2 separate regions of the Homo sapiens genome follow, and region 1 is linked to region 2. The links are contacts of gene promoters, found by promoter capture Hi-C in blood cells and fetal thymus (Javierre and others, 2016). All regions are on one chromosome and are shown on one strand. Each heading gives the region's core, a stretch centred on a gene start or on the middle of the fragment in contact. The rest is flanking DNA. Distances are from core to core; before and after follow the strand shown. Region 1 holds the start of LINC03102 (long intergenic non-protein coding RNA 3102). Region 2 holds the start of ZRANB2-AS1 (ZRANB2 antisense RNA 1).

The links. The method cuts DNA at HindIII sites, captures the fragments that hold promoters and counts their contacts. A CHiCAGO score of 5 or more calls a contact.
Region 1: the fragment with the promoter of LINC03102 here is called in contact with the fragment with the promoter of ZRANB2-AS1 in region 2 in 1 of 17 cell types (activated CD4 T cells); the score reaches 7.6 in activated CD4 T cells.

The regions. Positions count from the first base shown.
Region 1 is chr1:70,357,185-70,361,722 of GRCh38, forward strand. It overlaps LINC03102 (long intergenic non-protein coding RNA 3102), which reads right to left and starts at 3,253. Exons shown (of 2, transcript NR_183713.1): 1 at 3,113-3,253; 2 at 2,375-2,811. All of the region lies in intron 1 of ANKRD13C-DT (ANKRD13C divergent transcript), which reads left to right. RefSeq lists an enhancer at 1,889-1,948 and a silencer at 3,185-3,378. The HindIII fragment of the contact is 2,416 bases long and covers 1,777-4,192 here.
Region 2 is chr1:71,044,501-71,049,335 of GRCh38, forward strand. It overlaps ZRANB2-AS1 (ZRANB2 antisense RNA 1), which reads left to right and starts at 2,006. Exons shown (of 3, transcript NR_038420.1): 1 at 2,006-3,089; 2 at 4,314-4,488. PTGER3 (prostaglandin E receptor 3) reads right to left here and starts at 3,316. Exons shown (of 4, transcript NM_198719.2): 1 at 2,181-3,316. The coding sequence starts at 3,077. RefSeq lists an enhancer at 2,730-3,313. The HindIII fragment of the contact is 6,286 bases long and covers 1-4,835 here.

The DNA.
Region 1 (4,538 bases), core at 2,003-4,502, 690 kb before region 2:
GTAAATCAGATGATGAGAGCATGAACCAAGTTAGTAAGAGTGAGGCAGAAAAAGGTTTAAGAGGTTTTTAAAAATGAGTTCAATCTTAGCATATTGAGTTGAAAGTTGCTTATCTGTAGGGAGTTAGATGTTCTACATTTTAGATATTTGCAAGTGATCCTTAGGTAACAGAGAACTAGGTATGGGCTGGATTCAGAAGTTATCATTACACAGTAATTAATGCTCCAGAAGTGGGTGAGTTCCCCAAAGAAAAGTTTATAGAATGAGAAATTAAGAAGGTCCATATAGAACAAAATCTTGAAAACACCAATATTCAAAGCGTGTGTATAGGGTAAGTGGCCAGCATCCTATTACTAAAAACCTACACCAAATAATATCCCGTTATACTTGTGAAGTATTCTATCACTAGAGTCTGAATTTGAAATTTCTTTATTAGTGGCTGTCACCCATGGATGTCACCCATGGAATGTGGAAACTCATAAGTATCCCTCCAGTAAAATCAAACACCATACATATCAAAAATAATATTCAGGCCAGGTGTGGTAGCTCATACCTGTAATCCCAACACTTTGAAAGGCCAAAGCAGGAGGATCACTTGAGGTCAGGGGTTTGAAACCAGCCTGGGCAACATAGTGAAACCCCATCTCTATCAAAAAATATAAAATATTAGCCACCTGTGGTGCTAAACACCTGCAGTCCCAGCTACTCAAGAGGCTGGGGTGGGAGATCCACTTGAGCCTGGGAGTCCAAGGCTGCAGTGAACTAGGATTGCACTACTGCACACCAGCCTAAGTGACAGGTATCCTGTCTTTAAAAATAAATAAATAAATAAATAAATATCATCCTTTTTTATTTTTTATTTTATTTTATTTTTGAGACAGAGTTTTGTTCCCGTTGCCCATGCTGGAATGCAATGGTGTGGTCTCAGCTCACTGCAACCTCCGCCTCCTGGGTTCAAGCAATTCTCCTGCCTCAGCCTCCCAAGTAGTTGGCATTACAGGTCTCCACCACCATGCCAAGCTAATTTTTGTATTTTTAATAGAGATGGGGTTTCACCATGTTGGCCAGGCTGAGTCTCGAACTTCTGACCTCAGGTGATCCGCCCACCTCGGCCTCCCAAAGTGCTGGGATTACAGGCATGAGCCACCACACCAAGACTTATTTTTTGTTGTTTTTTGAGTCTCATTTTGTCAGCTAGGCTGGAGTGCAGTGGCATGATCTCAGCTCACTGCAACTTCCACCTCCCATGCTCAAGTGGATCCTCCCGCCTCAGCCTCCCAAGTGCTGGGACTACAGGGCCCAGCTAATTTTTGTATTTTTTTGTAGAGACTGGGTTTGGCCATGTCACCCAGGCTAGTCTCAAACTCCTGGACTCAAGCCATCTACCCACCTCGGCTTCCTGAAGTGTTGGGATTACAGGTGTGAGCTACTGCCCCCAGCCCATTCATTATTATTATTATTTTTTATAGAGGCCGTGTCTCACTATGTTGGTCAGGCTGGTCTTGAACTCCTGGGCCCAGGTGATCCTTCCACCTCAGCCTCCCAAAGTGCTGAGATGACAGGTGTGAGCCACTGCACTTGGCCCCATCCATTATTTTTAAGGGCTTGTAAAAATGACAGAAATGTAAGATTACAATATATTATAAAAAAGATAGAAATATGATTGTAATACATTATGAAAAATACAAGGATTGAAATTATATAAGCTCCCAATACAATATAGAAAAGGAAGTCATTAATTCTATTTGGGGAAAATAGAAATTGGATGATCAGAAAAGCTTTCTGGGGCTGGGCGTGGTAGCTCATGCCTGTAATCCCAGCACTTTGGAAGGCCGAGGTGGGCAAGTCACTTGAGGTCAGGAGTTCAAGATCAGCCTGACCAACATGGTGAAACCCCATTTCTACTGAAAAATACAAAAAGAATCAGCCAGGCATGGTGACGTCTGCTTGTAGTCCCAGCTGCTCGGGAGGCTGAGGCAGGAGAATGGCTTGAACCCAGGAGGCAAAGGTTGCAGTGAGATTGCACCACTGCACACCAGCCTGGGCGATAGAGCGAGACTCTGTCTAAAAAAATAAATAAATAAATAAAAGAATTACATCAAATTTTATCCCTTCTTAGCACAAATTTTTTTTTAACTTGGCATAGAATTCAGAGCCAGGAAATTGTGTTGAACTAACTTTCCAAATAAAATTTAGCATGTCATTCTATTATGAACGTATGCCACAAACCACAATAGTATTAGCATTAGTAGTACCTGTGACTTCACAACCAAAAAAACCACAGGTATTTTCATTTCACATAACAGTTGCTGCAGACAACTCAAAATTTCATTTATAGTCATTAGTACCTCTAAAATTATCTTAATAGGTATGCTCATTGCTATATCTTGTTCTTTAATTAGTTAATAAAGAAGCATATACATTACTGTATTACAAATTTGCTTTTAAAATATTTTGTTAGGTATTTCAATACTCAGAGTTTCCTTTTAATCCAAAATATTTTATGCATTTAAAAACACTGTTCTGAAAATGGGTCCCTGGGTTTCTCCACACTGCCAAAGAGTCAATGGCACAAAAACAGAAGTTAGGAACTTCTTCTTAGGAATCTTTGATGATACCTGCCCATTCGTCTCCTTTTCTCTCCTATCCAACAAACCCATCGTTCTGAATTAGGTGTCCCTCCTTTGTCTTCTTTTTGATTTCCCATTGTAACTTCTGCATGCCTCCTTGATATTCTTGTCTGGTCTCAACTAATCCTTGGAGCTCTCTGAGCACTGGAATCATGCTGATCATTGCTGTATGCACAGTGCCCTACAGGGAGTGAATGCTTATATTAATAATAAGCAGTTGTTGAATTAATCAGTCTATTAGAACACAAAACCCCAAGTATCTACAAGGTACTAAGACAACTGCAGACTCAGTAATGAGATGCTAAATAAACTTCTTAAATAATCCCAATATAACTACACTGAAATTAGCTGCTACACTCTTGAATTCTTACATGAAGCCAAAGAGTAGATATATCATTTAGGACTTTTTGTTTTTCATGTAGAAGTAACAATAAATTCAATTGAAACAGGGTTAAATTAAAGGAATGTATTGACTTACATACCAGAAAGGTGCAGAGATAAGTCTTCAAGAGTGGCCCCTCAGGATCCCATGTCAGTTTTTCAGTGAATCTCTCGGTGTTTCTCTCTGTATGAGGAGTCCTCCTCAGGCCTGCTTCCTTCAAGAACACAAGATAACTGCCAGCAGGTAAAAGCAGCCACGTGCTTCCTCCTTAAGGTCCAAAGGAGTTCCTGCTCCCACATAAATCTGGAGTATGACAGTTACAAGATAACTCAGTCCAATCTGTGTCCCAGAGAACGGTGATTGGCTCAAGCCTGGGTTATCTGACAAACCCCTGTGAAGGAGGGGTTACTCAGATTAGTTTCACCCAATCAGGATTGATCTCGGAGCCGGAGGTGGGGCCCAGCTCTCCAAACAGTGAACTGTTTCATAATGGGAATGAGGTGGGGAATAATGTTGGAGAGACAAATGCAAGAGTGGTCAGCAAAAGTACTATATCCAAAGACTTAAAACAGGATTTTGCTTCAAAAAAATCTGTTATCACAGTGTCTTGAATTCAATATGATAAAATATGTAGTGATTATCAATTATATCAATATGTAATGAGTAAATAACTTCACTGGTAAACACTGTATTTACTTTTTATTCAAATTTTACAAGATAGAATGCAATCCATCAATTCAAGTATAGAACTAAACTACTGGCCAGGCGCAGTGGCTCACGCCTGTAATCCCAGCACTTTGGGAGGCTGAGGCGGGTGGATCACCTGAGGCCAGGAGTTCGAGACCAGCCTGGCCAACATGGCGAAACCCCGTCTCTACTAAAAATACAAAAATTAGCCGGACGTGGTGGTGGACCCCTATAATCCAAGCTACCTGGGAGGCTGAGGCAGGAGAATCGCTTGAACCTGGGAGGCAGAGGTTGCAGTGAGCCGAGATTGTGCCATTGCACTCCTGCCTGGGCAACAGAGCTAGACTCCATGCCAAAAGGAAAAAAAAAAAAACCCTGAGAACTAAACTACTGAATTTGCTAGGTAATACTCTGTAGTTCTACAAATTAGCAAATTAATTTCTCTCCTGGTGTAGTTAACTCAATAATGCTCAATTTGCCTTGAATAGCAAAAAGCTTCTGAAAAATGAATGTTTTTCAACTTTTTCTAATGAGAGTTTTGTTAGATAGTTATGTGCTCACCAACACCAAACACTGACTAGACAGTTAAATCTGTCTCTAAGAAAGAACGTTGTGAATTTTGCCAGAAATTTATGTATCTCTATTAGCCCTACACAAAGCACCTAATCCCTGTCCTGGTGTCTTCATTTAACAAAAGCAGTAGTATGGTAACATGAAATACAGAACAGCAGTACTGTACAAAATAAAATCTCACTCGTTATATTTTTTAAATATATCAACAGACTTCCAATTAGGATCTGTAGTTACTAACCTTACTCAATTCTCATTGCATTGCATAC
Region 2 (4,835 bases), core at 756-3,255:
TTTTATAATTGAATTAATAAAGTACCCAGTAAAATGCTATAAATCAATAAGTATTATCCAAATGAAAATAAATTGAAATTAAGTAAGACTAGTTTCAAATGCAGTCTTTCTTGAAAGAGTGAGTTTGGCCATCCTAAATTACAGTTTTCAAGATTGATCTACTTTCTTTCTGAGGCCACCATACTTTTGGTACTAGAATTAAAGTGTCTAAATCAAAAACACACTACATGGCTTCGCTTTGACTTAAAAACAAAATGCACAAACAATAAATTATAAGTCTGATTAACTGTATGGGTATTTTGTTCAATTGATTTAACTGCATTTTTTTTCCCTAGGATATAAATCATGTGATACAGCAAACTCAAAGATGTGGGACTCAAATGACACTTGTGAAAAACTGATACCCTGTTTGCCTTTAAAGTTATATTAATTACCACACTTTAGTAAAGTGTTTACTATTTAGAACTCTTTCTTCCTTCCTAGTTGGCCACCTGTACACTCCATTCCTCAGCCATAAAAGTAAATACTGTATATCTAAAACTGGTGCTGGTTTTGATAAGCCATAGTGATGACATCAGCCTGAGTTCCAACTCCTGGAATAAAGAACTGTGACCATACAGCGACTTGTGGGCAGTTAGGTCTCAGCATAACACTCCTTGTCCCCTCATGTCACTGATTTGGAGCCAAGGTTTGTGCTCCAATCTACCAAACCAGGTTAAAGAAATTACATTTCTATTTTCAAATGCAAGGGATTTAAAAGTATACATGGCGCACAAAAAACTCAACGTACTTAATGCCTAATGCCACTGAACTGTACACATAATAATGGTTAAAATACTGAATTGTATGTAATATATTTTACCATAATTAGGAAAGAAAAAAAACTGCGTTCACGTGTTTCAAAGGTTTTCCACAACTGTATAATACATATAGTTGGTTATACCTTTGTAACAGTGACCATATCGCTCTTTCTGCAACATCTATTAACCCAGACACCCCAGGGCCTAAGTAAGCATCCATTCTTCAGGAATTAGTAAACAGCACTTACACACGGACATTTCTAGCTAAAAGTAACACAGACAAAAAAACCTCAAAAATATCACGTAAGGGCAGGTGTTAGGCAAAGAGCCTCTGCAAACATCCCTTGCTCCTCTGCATTGCTCTGGTGTGAGGAGCTAGGACATGGAGAAACCTCTACCTCCTATCTCAGGATTAGCGAACCCTGCTTGAGTGCTACAAGGGTAAGTAAATGCTGGCCTGAAGAAGCTGCTGAGCTTCCGGATCCCACTGACTGTCGTTCGGGCACTTCCTAGAGGGTCAAGCACCATGGCGAAAGGCTGAGGAGGCAACTCGTATCTTTCATTCTCCTGCCTCATCAAGAATGAACCTTGAAGGCACCCATAGGTCGCGCAGTCTTTCAGAAGCTGCAGGAGGGCTGTGACTGTATGGGGTTGCAGACTGAAAATCTTATTAACGTGAAAGAGGAATTTGAAATTAAAAAAAAAAAACCCGGCCGGGCGCGGTGGCTCACGCTTGTAATCCCAGCACTTTGGGAGGCCGAGGCGGGTGGATCACGAGGTCAGGAGATCGAGACCACGGTGAAACCCCGTCTCTACTAAAAATAAAAAAAAAAAATTAGCCGGGCGTGGTGGCGGGCGCCTGTAGTCCCAGCTACTCGGAGAGGCTGAGGCAGGAGAATGGCGTGAACCCGGGAGGCGGAGCTTGCAGTGAGCCGAGGCTGCGCCACTGTACTCCAGCCTGGGTGACAGAGCGAGACTCCGTCTCAAAAAAAAAAAAAAAAAAAAACCCCACAATATCAGGCTACAGTTATCATAGCAATTCTGCTTTTAATGCACTCAGGACAAACTTCTAGCTCTGCATATATGTCATTTCAATGACACATCCTGTCTCCTACCCGACTAGAATGTGAGCAGCCCTGTGATCTCTATGTGCTCATAAACAGTGCCTAATGCGAATCCTGGCTCTTGGAAGGCGCTCAGCTAGTAAGTGAGGAGCTCAGCTCTGAAGCTGTAACCAAGACCGCGCGGGCAGGAGGAAAGGACACTTCAGCGCTCTGCGGTTGCAAACACACCCCTGCGGGTGCTGCCACTTAGCAAAGTCTTAGGTTCCCGCTTACTCGCACACGCATCCTGACTTCCCCCAACCCTGGAACTACCTACCAGGAGCGGAGACCAGCAGACCGACAGCACGCACATGATCCCCATAAGCTGAATGGCCGTCTCGGTCGTGATGCGGCCCCACTGGGCACTGGACTGAGATGCCGTGGCCTTGGCCCGGCAGCGGGACACCAGGGCCTTAATGGTGGCCAGGTTGCAGGAAAAGGTGACTGTCAGCGCCAAGAGCCCCAGGAAGGCAAAGGCAGAGGCGAAGAAAAGGTTGCCCCAGTTATGCGAAGAGCTAGTCCCGTTGCCCCCTCGCCCGGTGCTGATGAAGCACCACGTCCCGGGCCACTGGACGGTGTACTGGCCCACGCCCAGCACCGGCAGCAGGGCGAAGGCGAGCACGGCCAGCCACACGCCGAGCAGCACAGCGCGGGTGGCACGCGTCTTCATGTGGCTCGCATACCAGTGCGGCGCCCTGATGGCCAGCGCCCGCTCGACGGCCATGGCGCTGGCGATGAACAACGAGGAGAGCCCGAAAACAGTCATGGTCAGCCCGAAAAAGGTGCAGAGCCGCCCCGACGGGTCGATGTGCTCCCAACGCTGCTTGGACAGGTACACGACGATGACGACCGGGGTGGTGAGAAGCTGCCCGACCAGGTCGGTGAGCGCCAGCCAGCCGATGCACAGCAGGAAGGACTTCTTGCGCTTGCTCTCCCGGCGCCGGTAGCTGCGCGACACGAGCAGCATGGCCAGTGCGTTGCCCACGAAACCAGTGAGCAGCATGGTGATCGGGAAGGCCACGGACACCGATCCGCAATCCTCGCCAGACCCTGGAGGGCGCGTGAGGTTGCCCCGCGCCTCGGCGGAACGCTCGGGCGCCCACATGCCTGTGTAGGAGTGGTTGAGGCGGGTGCAGAAGGGGGCATCCCCTCCGTAGCCCCGGGTCTCCTTCATGTTGGCTTCGAGGTGAGGAGGGGATGGCGTCCAGAGAGCCGCAGCGGGAGGGGGCAGACGCGGCGCGGGCGGCGGCGGAGGTCGGCGTTTACCGCGGCTGGGGCTGGGCTGCCCCCCATGGTGCGGGGCGCAGCCGCCGCCCTACTCCGCTGCTGGGACCGCGGCCGCGGCGGCGCCAGGGCTCACTGGCCCGGGAGGGAGCCACGCCTTCCTCTCTGGGAAACCTCTGGTGGCGAGGCGCGCGGAGGTGCCGAGTCCCCTTTATAAGGCCGAGGGGGCGGGGCGCCCGTGGGTGTGGACAGAACCGAGGTGGGAGGAGGGTGCAAAGCAACTGAGCGCCTCTCTTGGCTGTTGCCTATCCTGATCGCCTGGGTTGGGAAGCCCCAGACGGTCTCCTCTGAAACGCCCTGCTCCTGGCCGGACCGGGAGCCCACTGGGGTCTCCTCCAGTTCTCCGCTAAAGTGTCGGTGGACGGCAAGCAGCTAATAAGTAGCACTGGACTTGCGGACCCCAGGCAAACTGCCGAGGCGCACCTGAGCGCTCGTCCTCCTGCTTCTTCAACCACAAACGCTCCTACAGGGACGGGATCCTTCTCCTGAAGTCCTTTAGTAACTCTGGTAAAGTGAAAATCGCCTGTCCTTAAGCAATCCACACAAGCCTTTGCATAGCTGATCGTTAACTTTTTTCCTTTCTGCTTTGTGACTCTAGAGTGATTATAAAAAGGCCAAGGTGTCCTGTCCCCTGGGGTGCCGCTGAAAACTATAAAATTACTAGACAGTGCCTGTAGACTTAAGGGAATAGACACAGGGAAACAAATACATCGGATGGTTGAATTCCAAGACCAAGAAATCCCAACTACTACCCCTCGCCTAATCCTGCCCGCTCCCCTCCCCACCACCCAACAAAAAGGTCAGCTATGGCAAAAGTGGCTACAGGAAGGTGGCATCAATTTGCATATCTGAGGTAGTGAAATCAACTGCTCCCAGCCTATGGGAGTGAGAGGGGAGCAGAAGAGAAAGGTATTCCTTACAAAGCCTCCAACCATCCTTCTTATCTTCATACAATAAGAACTAGAAAAGGTATTCAGATGTTATGAAGGCCTTAATCTATATGGAAACTTTGCCTTTGAAATAATAAACATTGAATGAAAATAGGCATACTTGCTTGCCTCGTAACATCTTTCAGTAAGCCAATATTTTATGTACTTCTCACAAGCATTTTCTCATTTTATCACAGAAATCCTCCAAGGTACTATTGCTATTATTATTTCCCTTAAAGGTGGGGTAACTGAGGCCCCATGAAGTTAAAGAATGTTCCTGAAGTCTCTCAGCAATTCTCAAGTCCCATCTTATTTGAAGCATGTATTCCTGACATGGGTCCCATAACTGCTCTCAGCAGATGAATATTAACGGTGAGATCATCTTCCCCTAATCTTGGGAAAGTCTTGTGTTTTTTGCTTTTTGCCTTTTTACACTGTCTAAGAGATGAAAAGATTTTTAAAAATAATTGCAAAGTTCATTTTTCCTCATATTTAAGAAATTAGACTTAATCATATAGCACTCTAAAGACCATTATTTTGATTGACACAGATCAACTTTCAGAACAAGCCCAATCAGTTTTGCCTTTCCTAGCTTAGCTGATGTTCTGTATGGGTGTTCTTAACTTTTAAATTACTGTTAAGAGGTAAGAATGGGATATGTCCCTCTGCATACTTTATGTGCTGTTGTCTTGATTCTGTATGAGAGTTTGAAAAAATAT